Linked DNA regions of Homo sapiens: regions 1, 2, 3 and 4 are each linked to region 5. Evidence: promoter capture Hi-C in 16 types of primary human blood cells and fetal thymus (Javierre and others, 2016). All regions are on one chromosome and are shown on one strand. Each heading gives the region's core, a stretch centred on a gene start or on the middle of the fragment in contact. The rest is flanking DNA. Distances are from core to core; before and after follow the strand shown.

Evidence for each region. The method cuts DNA at HindIII sites, captures the fragments that hold promoters and counts their contacts. A CHiCAGO score of 5 or more calls a contact.
Region 1: a fragment that was not itself captured here is called in contact with the fragment with the promoter of NUDT4 in region 5 in 3 of 17 cell types (naive CD4 T cells, erythroblasts and monocytes); the score reaches 5.8 in naive CD4 T cells.
Region 2: a contact is called between a fragment that was not itself captured here and the fragment with the promoter of NUDT4 in region 5, in 3 of 17 cell types (naive CD4 T cells, total CD4 T cells and naive CD8 T cells). The highest score is 6.0, in naive CD4 T cells.
Region 3: a fragment that was not itself captured here is called in contact with the fragment with the promoter of NUDT4 in region 5 in 1 of 17 cell types (naive CD4 T cells); the score reaches 7.2 in naive CD4 T cells.
Region 4: a contact is called between a fragment that was not itself captured here and the fragment with the promoter of NUDT4 in region 5, in 3 of 17 cell types (naive CD4 T cells, monocytes and megakaryocytes). The highest score is 11.0, in naive CD4 T cells.

What each region holds. Positions count from the first base shown.
Region 1 is chr12:92,838,902-92,841,601 of GRCh38, reverse strand. All of the region lies in intron 10 of EEA1 (early endosome antigen 1), which reads left to right. Among named protein-coding and RNA genes, the nearest start is that of EEA1, 89 kb to the left of the region's middle. The HindIII fragment of the contact is 2,339 bases long and covers 221-2,559 here.
Region 2 is chr12:92,792,784-92,795,513 of GRCh38, reverse strand. All of the region lies in intron 21 of EEA1 (early endosome antigen 1), which reads left to right. Among named protein-coding and RNA genes, the nearest start is that of PLEKHG7, 91 kb to the right of the region's middle. The HindIII fragment of the contact is 2,376 bases long and covers 217-2,592 here.
Region 3 is chr12:92,812,200-92,814,899 of GRCh38, reverse strand. It overlaps EEA1 (early endosome antigen 1), which reads left to right. Exons shown (of 29, transcript NM_003566.4): 16 at 1,807-1,920. Among named protein-coding and RNA genes, the nearest start is that of PLEKHG7, 110 kb to the right of the region's middle. The HindIII fragment of the contact is 6,905 bases long and covers 1-2,700 here.
Region 4 is chr12:92,772,057-92,774,756 of GRCh38, reverse strand. PLEKHG7 (pleckstrin homology and RhoGEF domain containing G7) reads right to left here. Exons shown (of 17, transcript NM_001377329.1): 17 at 2,302-2,700. EEA1 (early endosome antigen 1) reads left to right here. Exons shown (of 29, transcript NM_003566.4): 29 at 1-2,700. Among named protein-coding and RNA genes, the nearest start is that of PLEKHG7, 70 kb to the right of the region's middle. The HindIII fragment of the contact is 3,638 bases long and covers 1-2,700 here.
Region 5 is chr12:93,376,420-93,379,266 of GRCh38, reverse strand. It overlaps NUDT4 (nudix hydrolase 4), which reads right to left and starts at 1,342. Exons shown (of 5, transcript NM_019094.6): 1 at 846-1,342. The coding sequence starts at 944. It overlaps LOC643339 (a long non-coding RNA gene), which reads left to right and starts at 1,531. Exons shown (of 5, transcript NR_040096.1): 1 at 1,531-1,830. RefSeq lists silencers at 711-1,010, 1,231-1,570 and an enhancer at 807-1,746. The HindIII fragment of the contact is 6,665 bases long and covers 1-2,847 here.

The DNA of each region.
Region 1 (2,700 bases), core at 141-2,640, 540 kb after region 5:
ATGCAACAAAACTGGGTTTCATTGTTGTTATTGAGTTGTAGGAGTTCTTTATATATTCTGGATATTAACCCCTTATCAGATATGTGATTTGCAAATATTTTATCCCATTCTGTAGGAATGTTAAATTTTGATGTAGTCTAATTTATCTACTTTCATTTTTGTTAAGGTCTATTTGGTGTCATATCCAAAAAATCATTGCTAAACCTAGTGTCATGAAGCTTTTCTTTTGTTTTCTTATAAGAGTTTTCTAATTTTTAGGTCTTATGTTTAGGTTTTTGATCCATTTTGATTTAATTTTGTATATAGTATAAGGTAAGGGTCTAATTTTATTCTTTTATACATGGATATCCATTTTTCCCAGCAACATTTGTAGAAAAGACTGTCCTTTCCCCGTTGAATAATCTTGGCACCCTTGTCAGAAATTATTTGACCATTGTCTTAGTCTGTTTGGGCTCCTATAATAAGATACTATAAACTGGGTAGCTTATAAACAATAGAAATTTATTTTTTACTATTTTGGAGGCTGAGAAGTTCAAAATCAAGGCACTAGCAGATTTGGTGTCTGGTGAAACATTGCTTTCTGGTTCATAGATGGTGCCTTCTCACTGTGTCCCACATGGTGAAAAGAACAAGAGACCTCACTGGGGCCTCTTTTGTAATTCCATTCATGAGAACTCAACCCTGAGGACCTAATTACCTCTGAAATGCCCCATCTCCTAATACCATCTCCTTGAGGGTTAGAGTTTCAGTATATGAATTTTGGGGGGACACAGACATTCAGACCATAGCAACAATATATGCAAAGGTTTATTTCTGGCTCTCTATTCTATTCCATTGGACTCTATGTCCATCTTTATGCTAGTACCACACTGTTTTGATTACTGTAGCTTTGTAATAAGTTTTAAAATCAGGAAGATAAGCCTTCAACTTTGTTTTGTATTTTTAAATGTTAGTATTTTCTGTATTGTTTCTTTATAAATGAGCAACATTGGCCAGGTGCGGTGGCTCACGCCTGTAATCCCAGCACTTTGGGAGGCCAAGGCGGGCAAATCACCTGAGGTCAGGAGTTTGAGACCAGCCTGGCCAACATGGTGAAATCCCATTCTATTAAAAATACAAAAATTAGCTGGGTGTGGTGGCACATGCCTGTAATCCCAGCTACTTAGGAGGCTGAGGCAGGAGAATCACTTGAACATGGGAGGCAGAAATTGCAGTGAGCCGAGATCATGCCACTGCACTCCAGCCTGGGCCACAGAGTGAGATTCCATCTCAAAAAATAAAGAGCAACATATAGTATTTTGTTTGGGGTTAGGGGAGGTACTAATATTAATACTTTTTCCCTTTGTCTTTACTTTTTTGGTGGTGGGGCAGTAGAGAGTTATGAAACCCTTTTATTCAGAGATGTGAATGTGTTGGTTAAGTTGTAATAACTTAACATTTTCGTGAAATATAATAAGGAAAAAGTCAAGAAAGAAAAAAATAGGGCATAAGGGAATAAAGAGAAATATAATTAGCTATAAATATTAAACCTCCTGCCAACAGCCATGTGTATGAGCTTGAAAGTAGATGCTCCAATCCTAGTCAAGTTTTCAGAAACTGTAGCTCTGGCCAGCAGCTTACTATAACCTCATGAGAGACCCTGAGGTGAAATCACCCAGTTAAGCCACTTCTAGATTCCTGACCCTCAAAAACTATATGATATAATAGATATTGTTTTAGGCTGCTGCCATGAAGTTTCAGGGTAATTTGCTGCCATGAAGTTTCAGGGTAATTTGCTGCCCTTGGCAAGCACTTCTTTTTACATTCTCAAAATGATTAAGGACTCCAAAGAGCCATTTTTGGGTGAGGTTATATCTATGGACACTTGTCATATCGAAATTTAAAAGTAATTTAAAAATATTAATTTATTTAAAAAACATTAACTCATTAAATATTAACATAAATAGCATTTCTTATGAAAAATGACCATTTTCTAAAACAAAAGAATTCAGCAAGAATAGTTGTGATGTTTCACATTTTTGGAAACCTCTTTAATGTCTAGCTTAATATAGGACAGGTAGATTCTCATATCTGCCTTTACATTAAATCTATTGTAGTATATGGTTGAAGTATATGAAGAAAATTTAGTCTCATACAGATATGTAGTTGGAAAAGGAAGGAATATTTTAATACTTTTTCAGATAATTGTGGCTTTCTTTATTTGATACTGTGCTCAAATTTGATAATAGTGTCTTAAAAGTTAGTGACAATGTGGAATCTGAAACCGAGTCAGTGGACTTTTTGTACACTGTAACATTAAAATTTGATCTATCTTGCCTTTTGAGTGGATCTTTTCCTGTGCGTGATTTTATAAGATCATGCATTAGTCATGTGGAAAATATTGGTTCACTGAGTTACTCAGATCTTCCAAATTTTGATACATTTTATTGTACAATATAAAAACAGTCACATTTGTCAATATCACCATCAATCTCAGATTAGGCTTTAAATATGAGGAAGCTGTCAAGCTCATGGTGGTGGATACATGTTTTCCAAAATTCTAAGCTGTATTTGAAAGCTTGAGTTTTATCACTGGCAACAAATACTATCAATTCTATTCTTTAAAGTGACAGATTCCCTTCCTACTCAAGTCCGAATATTAATAGTCTGTCGGTCTTTCTAGTAAAAGTGGTGTTTCATAAAAAAAAAAGTGTGGCTAGT
Region 2 (2,730 bases), core at 155-2,654, 580 kb after region 5:
TTGTCATTCAATCACTTGTTTCAGAAATATTACTAGGCACTTATTTTATGCCATGGCACAATTCTAGGTGCTGAAGACGACACAGCTGCGAATAAAACAGACATGGGACCTGTTCTTGTGGAGCTTATACTTTAGTGCGTAGAGAAACTAAACAGAGAGGTATGAAAGATAGTGATGGGACATAATTCTACTGAAGGTTGGGTGATCAAAGAAGCTTTGCTGAAGAGATTTGAGTTGATGTTGGTATTTTCTAAAAACAGATGACCAATATGGTTAAATTTGGTTCTGAGGGAGAAGGTAACATGAGATGAGCTCAGATAATTAGACAGGGGCCAGATCATTTATATGCAAATTAGATTATGAGATAACAGAATGGTATATTTTATTCTAAGGGCAATTGGACTCTATTGGAGAATTTAGAACAGAGAATGGTGGGGTTTGACTAAAGGGAAAATAAAGGATTTTGTGAATGATTATAATGATTTGTGAATATATTTTGGAAGTTGCATCATCAGGACTTTCTGATAGATTCAAAAGTGAGAGGTAATAGGAAGAGGATCAAGGATAACTTGGGTTTGTGCATGTGGGTAGTTGGTAATGCCATTTATTGGGGGAAGTAGCAGCTTTTTTTTTTCTTTTATTTAAGTTCTAGTTTACATGTACACAACATGCAGGTTTGATACATAGGTATACATGTGCCATGTTGGTTTGCTGCACCCATCAACTCATCATTTACATTAGGTATTTCTTCTAATGATATCCCTCCCCCAGCCCCCCACCCCCCGACAGGCCCTGGTGTGTGATGTTCTCTGCCCTGTGTCCAAGTGATCTCATTGTTCACTTTCCACCTATGAGTGGGAACATGCGGTGTGTGGTTTTCTGTCCTTGTTATAGTTTGCTGAGAATGATGGTTTCCAGCTTCATCCATGTCCCTGAAAAGGACATGAACTCATCCTTTTTTAAGGCTGCATAGTATTCCATGGTGTATATGTGCCATATTTTTTTTTATCCAGTCTATCATCGATGGACATTTGGGTTGGTTCCAAGTCTTTGCTATTGTGAATAGTGCTGCAATAAACATACGTGTGCATGTGTCTTTATAGTAGCACGATTTATAATCCTTTGGATATTTACCCAGTAATGGGATTGCTGGGTCAAATGGTATTTCTAGTTCTAGATCCTTGAGGAATCGCCACACTGTCTTCCACAATGGTTGAACTAATTTACACTCCCACCAACAGTGTAAAAGTGTTCCTGTTTCTCCACATCCTCTCCAGCATCTGCTGTTTCCTGACTTTTTAATGATTGCCATTCTAACTGGCGTGAGATGGTATCTCATAGTGGTTTTGATTTGCATTTCTCTGATGGCCAGTGATGATGAGCATTTTTTCCTGTGTCTGTTGGCTGCATAGATGTCTTCTTTTGAGAAGTGTCTGTTCGTATCCTTTGCCCACTTTTTGATGGGGTTGTTTGTTTTTTTCTTGTAAATTTGTTTGAGTTCTTTGTAGATTCTGGATATTAGCCTTTTGTCACATGGGGAGATTGCAAAAATTTTCTCCCATTCTGTAGGTTGCCTGTTCGCTCTGATGGTAGTTTCTTTTGCCGTGCGGAAGCTCTTTAGTTTAATTAGATCCCATTTGTCTATTTTGTCTTTTGTTGTCATTGCTTTTGGTGTTTTAGTCATGAAGTCCTTGCAATGCAGGCTCTTTTTTGGTTCCATATGAACTTTAAAGTAGTTTTTTCCGATTCTATGAAGAAAGTCATTGGTAGCTTGATGGTGATGGCATTGAATCTATAAATTACTTTGGGCAGTAAGGTCATTTTCATGATATTGATTTTTCCTATCCATGAGCATGGAATATTCTTCCATTTGTTTGTGTCCTCTTCTATTTCATTGAGCAGTAGTTTGTAGCTGTCCTTGAAGATGTCCTTCACATCCCTTGTAAGTTGGATTCCTAGGTATTTTATTCTCTTTGTAGCAATTGTGAATGGGAGTTCACTCATGATTTGGCTCTCAGTTTGTCTGTTAATAGTGTATAGGAATGCTTGTGATTTTTGCACATTGATTTTGTATCCTGAGACTTTGCTGAAGTTGCTTATCAGCTTAAGGAGATTTTGGACTGAGACAATGGGGTTTTCTAAATATACAATCATGTCATCTGCAAACAGGGACAATTTGACTTCCTGTTTTCCTAATTGAATACCCTTTATTTCTTTCTCTTGCCTGATTGCCCTGGCCAGAACTTCCAACACTATGTTGAATAGGAGTGGTGAGAGAGGGCATCCTTGTCTTGTGCCGGTTTTTAAAGGGAATGCTTCCAGTTTTTGCCCATTCAGTATGATATTGGCTGTGGGTTTACTATAAGTAGTTCTTGTTATTTTGAGATACGTTCCCTCAATATCTAGTTTGTTGAGAGTTTTTAGCATGAAGGCTGTTGAATTTTGTCGAGGGCCTTTTCTGCATCTATTGAGATACCATGTGGTTTTTGTCGTTGGTTCTGTTTATGTGACGGATTACATTTATTGATTTGCATATGTTGAACCAGCATTGCATCCCAGGGATGAAGCTAACTTGATTGTGGTGGATAAGCTTTTTGATGTGCTGCTGGATTCGGTTTGCCAGTATTTTATTTGAGGATTTTCGCATCGATGTTCATCAGGGATATTGACCTCAAATTCTCTTTTTTAGTTGTGTCTCTTCTGGGCTTTGGTATCAGGATGATGTTGGCC
Region 3 (2,700 bases), core at 94-2,593, 560 kb after region 5:
GAGTGTCCCTTTAACTATACAAATGAGGCTTTTAAGCTGTTTCTCAGTTTAAAGTTCCATAATACACCTTTTGATCTCTACTTCCACGGTACTTCCTTGTGTGCATGATCAGGACAGCATCAAGGTACATTATTATGCACATGTATGAGGGCACTTCACTGCTTTTACTGTTTTAAGGGCTTTAATGCAAAAGTTGCAACAATTGTAGCCTTGTAGTAATTGGTACTTAGTCATTGCCTATAAAAAGGGCAAACAGAGGGGCTGGCTATATGAATAGCCACATTTCCCCCCCCGCCCCCCATCAGAAGCCTTTCTAAAATAAGGCAAACTAGTGGAGCAATTACTTAATTTCCCCCAAACTTTCTTTATATGCTACATGATTTTGGAATATACATATATTACATTAGTTGAAGCATGCTGTATAAAAAAGATCATGAGTGATTATCATATGTTAAAATATTTCATGAGTTTTTGGTTCCTCAGATAGATGAAATGCCGTATGTAAATAAAGCTGACTTCTGCAAAAATATATTTGTAGTCTATGCTATATATTCATCAGTATAGATTTACTATGTGTTGTTTAAAGGGAAGATTTCTTTAGTTTTCACCTTTAAATCAATGTAAATGTATATACCTTGATGTAACTATTATTTCTGTGAAAATTAAGTATTTTGATATTGAGAAAAAATTATTTGAATTTTTCCTTCAGCTTGTAATTATCCATACAATGTAAATCTTAGATTTCTTATGTTCATTGATCCTCTCTTCAACCAGCTAAAAGAATGCACCCCCCATTTTTACTGTTTTCTCAAAATATGTTAATTTTAAATACATGTTTTTACATATATATTTTCTTTTTTGCTTTTCTTTCTTTCTTTCTTTTTTTCTGAGACAGAGTCTTGCTCTGTCGCCAGGCTGGAGTGCAGTGGCGCGATCTCAGCTCACTGCAGCCTCCACCTCCCAGGTTCAAGTGATTCTTCTGCCTCAGCCTCCTGAGTAGCTGTGACTACAGGTGCATGCCACCATGCCCAGCTAATTTTTGTATTTTTAGTAGAGATGGGGTTTCACCACATTGGCCAGGATAGTCTCGATCGCTTGACCTTGTGATCTGCCTGCCTTGGCCTCCCAAAGTGCTGGGATTACAGGTGTGAGCCACCGCACTTGGCCTATTTTTTGCTTTTCGTATTCGAGGTGAGTTGTACTAAAGGTATTCCAACACTTAAAGGTGTTACTTTTGATAACAAGATAGATCTTTTTGCTTGTTTGATTTTATTGGCAGCCTTGAATTTTTAATATTTAATATTTTGACTGTGAGCTTCAAAAATAAAACCCTTTAAGTGAGAAGTTATCAGGGAATACTGAATTTTACAAAGTGCCAGTTGTCTGGCTGTTTTGAGTCATTGAATTCTGTAATTCTTGATTATCTTCGGAGTAATCATTTTTTGGGGCATGGTTATTTACTTTATCATAATAGTGGTAGACTTTCAGATACTCACTTCTGAAAATACAGTGGCCTTTTTTGGAAAAAAAGTGTACCTTTTCTTTCTTAGCAAAGGAATACTAAAGTGTTTTGGAATCACATGAGGATATCTTTTTATTATTTATCCAGCATTATTAGGAGTCTTCTCCCCTATCATTCCTATTTTGGCGATTTTCACATACATATTTTTCAATATATAAATCCATATGTTTTTGCCAAGGACTTAATTTTTAAATAGTTTGTTTAGTCACAAAAGGAGTGTGCGTTCAAGCAAGAGGAAATCAAGAACTAAATATAAATTAAATAATTTGTAAATGCTGTTACAGATTAAAGCCAAAACCGAACTATTACTATCAGCAGAAGCAGCAAAAACTGCTCAAAGAGCTGATCTTCAGAATCATTTGGACACAGCTCAAAATGCATTACAAGATAAACAGCAGGTAGGGAAACAGATGCAATTTCATACTATCACCTAGTGCTTTGGTAGATAAATAAATTGCAAACATGTAAAGATGATACCCAGTTTTGTATAATCTTGTGATAGACTTGCTTATCCCCCTTAATTTCTCCATGAGTTCCAGTTGAGTAGTAAAAGTGGGGGTCACATAGATGGAGATAAAAATAACAGCTTTGTTTTTGATAAATTTCTACTAGTGTGCAGGTGTGGTTGGTTTCCTGATATTGTCCTTCTCCCCTAGCCTAGACCTTGGTGTAGAGCAGTAATGTTTCCTCCTAACTTTTGAATTGTTGCCCCATCCCTTCAAGTGTTGGTGATTGGATGGGGCAGACCACCACATTTGTTTTTAGTAGGTAGACTGGACCATGACCCAAATGTACTTGCCACTTGGAAACAGGAAAAGAACACTGTATATTCTACCTCAGTTATAAGAGTTACTCCTTTCTTGGTAATAGGAGGAAGTGAGGAGCTGGAGGGAATACAGAAGCGATACTCTGGTAGAATAGAAGCATCCTACTTTAGGGTCACGGTGAATGTTGCTGGTAGATTTTTCTTAGCTTTTACTGGTAGAAATTTTTAAAATTTACTTGTTATTCAGGGAGTAATATTAGTTATTGGTCTTTTTTTTTTTTAGATGGAGTTTTTTGCTCTTGTTACCCAGGTTGGAGCGCAATGGTGTAATCTTGGCTCACTGAAACCTCCACCTGCCGGGTTCAAGCAATTCTCCTGCCTCAGCCTCCCAAGTAGCTGGGATTACAAGCAT
Region 4 (2,700 bases), core at 113-2,612, 600 kb after region 5:
TTCCCTTTAAGTAACTAACACCTAGAAATAGAGTATCACCAAAAACAAATGTATTTAGGAATCCCAGTTACAATAAAAACTGAAACAGCATGGCTAAGCATCTTAAGGATAATTAAGAAATTAGCTTATTTGTATGCTGAACAATGGAATCGAACTTTAATTTAGCATAGTCTTATTAATTTGGAAAATTGTAAAACATCTCAAGAGAGAAGTTATTAATATTGGTTTATTAATCTTTCTAGAGAAGAAGTGTAGTTATACATTCATTCAGTGCAATCATTTTATAACAGTAGTTAATATTTCATTTATAATAGTTCTTAATATACATTTGCTTTCAAATATTCTGAAATGAAATTATATTCATGCTATACCTACAGTGTATGTAAACTAAAGAGATCACTACATATTTGTTTAATTATTTAAAAAAAAATTTAAGTAAACCCTGTTGTCATTAGCTATTAAGAACATTGATTAAGTCCCTGGACTTGGATAAACATATATCCTTGAACATATATAATGAAGAAATACAGTGGCTCTTTATTAAAAATAATAGTTGGATAATATAAACTGAACTATTTATGCATTTTTATATACTTATAAATCCTTCCAAATAGTTTTAATTCTATCCTTTTACATATAAATAACTTAATAAGTGTGCTGGAAAAACACAGATATTCACAGCACCACTGTTTTTTTTTTTTTTTTGAGATAATAAATTCCATGAGAAATCTGGGTTTGAATATTTGTTTACTTTGTCTCCTAATTGAACACCACTCCAGGCCTTCTGTCTGTCTCCCCTTTACCCCCAAAATACTCACAAAAAAATTTTAAGACAACAAGTAACCATATATAGGTGTTTGAATGATTTTCTCATTTTTATCTAATTTCATTTCATAAGTCCCGAGTAATTTACCTACCATAGGCTACTATACTGATAATATAAATGAAACCGAACATTTTTTGCTACTAACTCTCCCCAATTTAATGTGTTTTCGAAATAAAAATTTAAATTTTTTTCCTTTTAATTAAAAAGTCATCTTTGAAGTCCTTATTGGCTGTACATTTTACATGTTTGCTGGTACTATTATTTTGTCAGTCAGTTAAAGCTGGCATGTACAGCTCTTGGCTTTAATGAAAAGCACATTGACATAATGTTAGTAAATTCCAAACCCCGGCACAGAATGTGAGTTAAAATTAAGTCTTGCTGGGTTAGTGTACAATAAACTATACCTACAGACTTTTTTTTAATAGAAAGAAGACAAAGCTGCTGGTATAGGATTTGTTCCTTTGAAGAAAAAATGAGGGAAACAAACACAAAAACCTCAATGCAGTGTATAAATAACATTTTGTTCAACTACCTCTTAATGTGGAATTATCTACTTTAATAGTTTCCTGACAGTAATGTTAAATAGTAACTGCCAAATTTGTTATTTTCCCATCTCTCTTAAAAAAGTCTTTATGATTATTTTATATAGTTTTGAGAACTTTAAAGCCACTTTTTTTTAACCTTACATTTGCATAAAAATGTTTAGCTTTTAAGTAGAGAGCAAATTATGATCATATATTTTGATATTCATGACCTGTTTGACTATAGGAGTTTTTTTAAAAAAATGCACTTTGGCTATAAAACCATGGATGATTTGATCCATAAGATTTAAATGTGCCACCATTATAGTATTCCTAGACATGAGCTTGATGAATGGTATTCTGTAATTATAACGTGCCACACATTATTGTGTCTTAATTGCCCTTAGCCTGAATTTTAATGATCAATTTGTTATTGTTGCAGATGTGAATATTGTGCATAAACTTACTAAATTTATGTAAAATTGTATAAAATAGAATTAGAAGTCACTAAGTTCTTTCTGTGTAGAAGTAATAAATTTATTGTAACACAATGCAGTTGTGTATATGACATTCTGTAATTCCTTGAACTGGATCATATATTCATAAGTTCTGTAGATACTTATGCATGAACATTTTCTCATTTAGTTTTTGGGTTCATTATTTGTATTGTGTTTACTACTTGTGATCATGTAGTTGTGCCTTACTTTGTGAGAAAGGTTAGCTCAGTAAATACTGCAATTTCTAAACTCAGTGATTGGAAGGTTATTAATTATAAATGTAACTGATAAAGTACGTGACAGCATTTAAATCTGTATAAAGAACAATGGAAGGATCCTTATTGAATTGTTGCTTTTTTTTAATATGTTTAAATATTATATTAAAAACATTTCTTTCTAAACTAGTTGTATTCTGTGACTATAAATTGTTTTGTCTAACAAAAGAGAGAACACTGTATTAACCATTTTGCATTAATTTATTTACAGAATATTAGGACTTTGCACTTGGATATAGACAGTGGTGTTTTAATGTTGTTCAATTTCGAATAGTAATTAAATTCCTGATCTCAAGAGAAATTATTAATGCCATTTTGCCTTAGACATTCCATTTAATATTGTAGAGAATTAACAAAACTAAAAACAAATATAAAAAATATGTAATTAACCCCTTATTTCATTGTGTGTCTGCATTTAATACCCAGATGACCATTTAAAGATACTTAAAACATTATTTATTTATTTATTTATTTATTTTTCTCCCTCCCCTCCCCAAAGATACTTTTTGGAAGGCCCAATGTGCCATTGTTTTTTGCTATTTTTTCTTCCTGGGAGCCACGGTTCTAGAATGGTTTTTGTT
Region 5 (2,847 bases), core at 93-2,592:
TCGCTCTCCAGGGAAACCCCAAGGGTCTCATTCTCAGCCCAATGCAGATGGGTAAATTATCCAAGAACGACTGCTCTGAGAACGAGAAAGGCTACTCCTTTCCAGATGTCAAGCCAGACAGCAAAGAACCCTTTATACATAAGCTGAGAGCTGGAGATTACTGTCTGAAAATGGCAGCTTTGCCCATCTCTAGTCCATCGTCTCCCTTTTGGCATTATTCCACATTTTTCACTAACCATTTTTCTGCAGTCAGAAAACTTTAAGAAGGGAAGGCCGTTTTAAAAATGAGGCATAATTATGCCAACAGCTTGCGGGTTCATGGACCCACAAGAATTGCCAAGACTAGACTCAATTCCAAGCACGAGGACTGTCTGTTACTCCACAAACATGCTTAGATCGAATCCGAGACCGCAAACGGCTGTAACATGGAAGGAAAATATGTAAAAGAGGCACAAGGGCTCTGCTGCAACACTCACGCCATTTCCACCCTCCTCTCGCTGAGCACTCGAGGTTTATCCGGCTTTCAACTCAATTCGCACGTTAAGATGGTGACTCCCGCTAGGCGAGACTTACGCGGCCCGGGACCTTCCCGGGGACCAGGCGCCTTCTCGAGTGCCCAGATGGAGAAACTGGGGCTGGGCGAGCCCCCTTTGTCTCATCTATCAGCCCAGAGAAAGGAAGGAAGAAGTGAGGGAGGAAAGGAGTGAGGGAGGAAAGGAGGGAGGGAGGAAGGGGGCTAATCCCTCCCAGCCCCGCAGCCTGCGCAGGGGCGGGGAGCGAGGGGAAGCACCCGGGCCCTAGACCCCGGCGCCCCGGAGGGCAGCGTGCGGCGCCGGGCGCCCTACCTCGTCCTCCTGCTCGCTCCGGAAGCACAGGCACGCCGCCCGCTTCTTGAAGCCCTCGCGGTCGTAGGTCCGCGTCTGGTTGGGCTTGAACTTCATCATAGAGGCGGGCTCCTGCTGCTGCTGCTGCTGCTCCGGCCGCCGCCGTGGGGGCCCGGCCGCCGCCACCCCGCCGGGGAGTGGGGGCGAGGGCGAGTCGGGCGCAGGAGCGCCCGGGAGCGCTAGTCGGTGCGGGAGGTGCGGCGAGGCCGGTCAGTCCCGGGGCCGGCGGCCGCTCCGACGCGGGCGGGACGGGACGCTAGCGCGGGTCACTGGAACCAGGGTGCCGAGATGAAAGCTCCGCCTCTGCCCAGTTGTCCGCCGCTCTCCATGGAGCCCGACTCCCGCTCGCCTCCGCTCCCTCCGGCCGTAGCCGCCAGGGGAAGGGCGGCTAGAGGCGCGCGCCACGCGGAGACAGTTGCGAAGACCCGCTCCCACTGAGCAGCAGCACCGCGGCGACCGCGCGCCGCCCCCTCTGCTCTGTTTAAATGAAGCCCACATGCGCCCCGCCTCCCCCGCGCGCCACTGCGCCTGCGTGCAGAGACCATTGCAATGGGGTGGGTGGGTAGGTGTGGCGGGGGAGGTAGGGGCGGGACCTCGGCCGCCCGGTGGGCGGGGCCGCGCGCACTCCCGGGCTGGAGTTCGGCGAGGCCTTGGGACTGGCGCTGGAGCCCAGCGTGGGATGACCGTGCCCCGAAAACATGCCAGTGAATGGAAAGAAGCCAAGGTCCCCTCCCTCCCTGCTTATACCCTCAACTTTGCCAATGAGGACCCTAAATACCAGCTGCACTACAGGGGATGTAACTACATACACCGTCACCAAAGTTGCAGCCTGGCCAAGAAATGCCAGGGGACGTCGCGGCGATTGCAGACTCCGCGGTGACTGTGTAGATACGTCCAGAATTCGCCCTTGTAGCGCGGGGAGAGGCGAGAGTGAAGGCCTAGAAAAGTTAAGACGTTAACTGTTTTTTTTTTCTTTGTTTTCACAAATGGGGGGTAGGCAAATTTCCTTTTTTTTTTTTTGTATTTAAATTTTTAATCTTTGGTTGGGGATGGCTTGTATTATTTAAAGAGTCAACTCTAGCTTAAACGTTTCTTTGAAGCTGTCTATAACATCCCCCACTTTGTGCCACCTTCCGGAAAGTATTAATACTGGCAATGGCTAATAGTTGCGAAATGGTTTTCATGTGGATCTCATGCTAAGTAACAGCGCAGCTGGATGCTGGGGCCACAGCACTAAAATATAATGGGATTTCTGCTATCTGGGAGCTTACAGTACCTTGGGGACTTGGAACAAACAACCTCTACACTTCAGAGTGTTAGAAGGGCTAAGATAGGAGCCAGGAGGCCTGATCTTAAGGTAGCTCGAGAAACCCAAACTCAGGCCATTCTGCCCTTCCACAGAGGCCCAGGTTGCTTGGGTCCTGACTTGGTTGGTTGGTTTTTCACCCCTTGAGGGCCTATTGTGTGTCAGGCACTGGCATCTAACAAAACCAGTCAGCCCCTGCCTCTCCAGGAGCGTAGGCACCTGAGAGCACACCGTCAAATATTAAATGATCACACGTGTACACGTAAAACTACAAATGTAATGGGCTCTAAGGTTTCAGACAAAGATTTGACCAGATCTGCAGTCAGAAAAAGATTATTGGGGCAGCAAGGCAGGAGCTGAGGGCTGAAGGAGGAGGAGCTAAATTGACCAAGAGCTTTCAAGGCAAAGGGAACTGGGATTTCTGCAGAGCCCAAAGTGGGAGGGAGTGAGGAGAGTTCTCAGAAATGAAAGAAAAGGCCAGTGTGGCTGCAGAGCGGAGGCAAGCTGGTTCCGCCTCTGGCAGAGGGGCCTGTGAGGCCTGACTGAGAGGCTGGGGACCACTGGAGAGCTCAGAGCAGGCACTGGTCTTTCTAGTCTCCAACCTCCTTTAGATTTGGGACTGCTGCATCTAACTCATCTTGTTACTCCCAGAGCCCA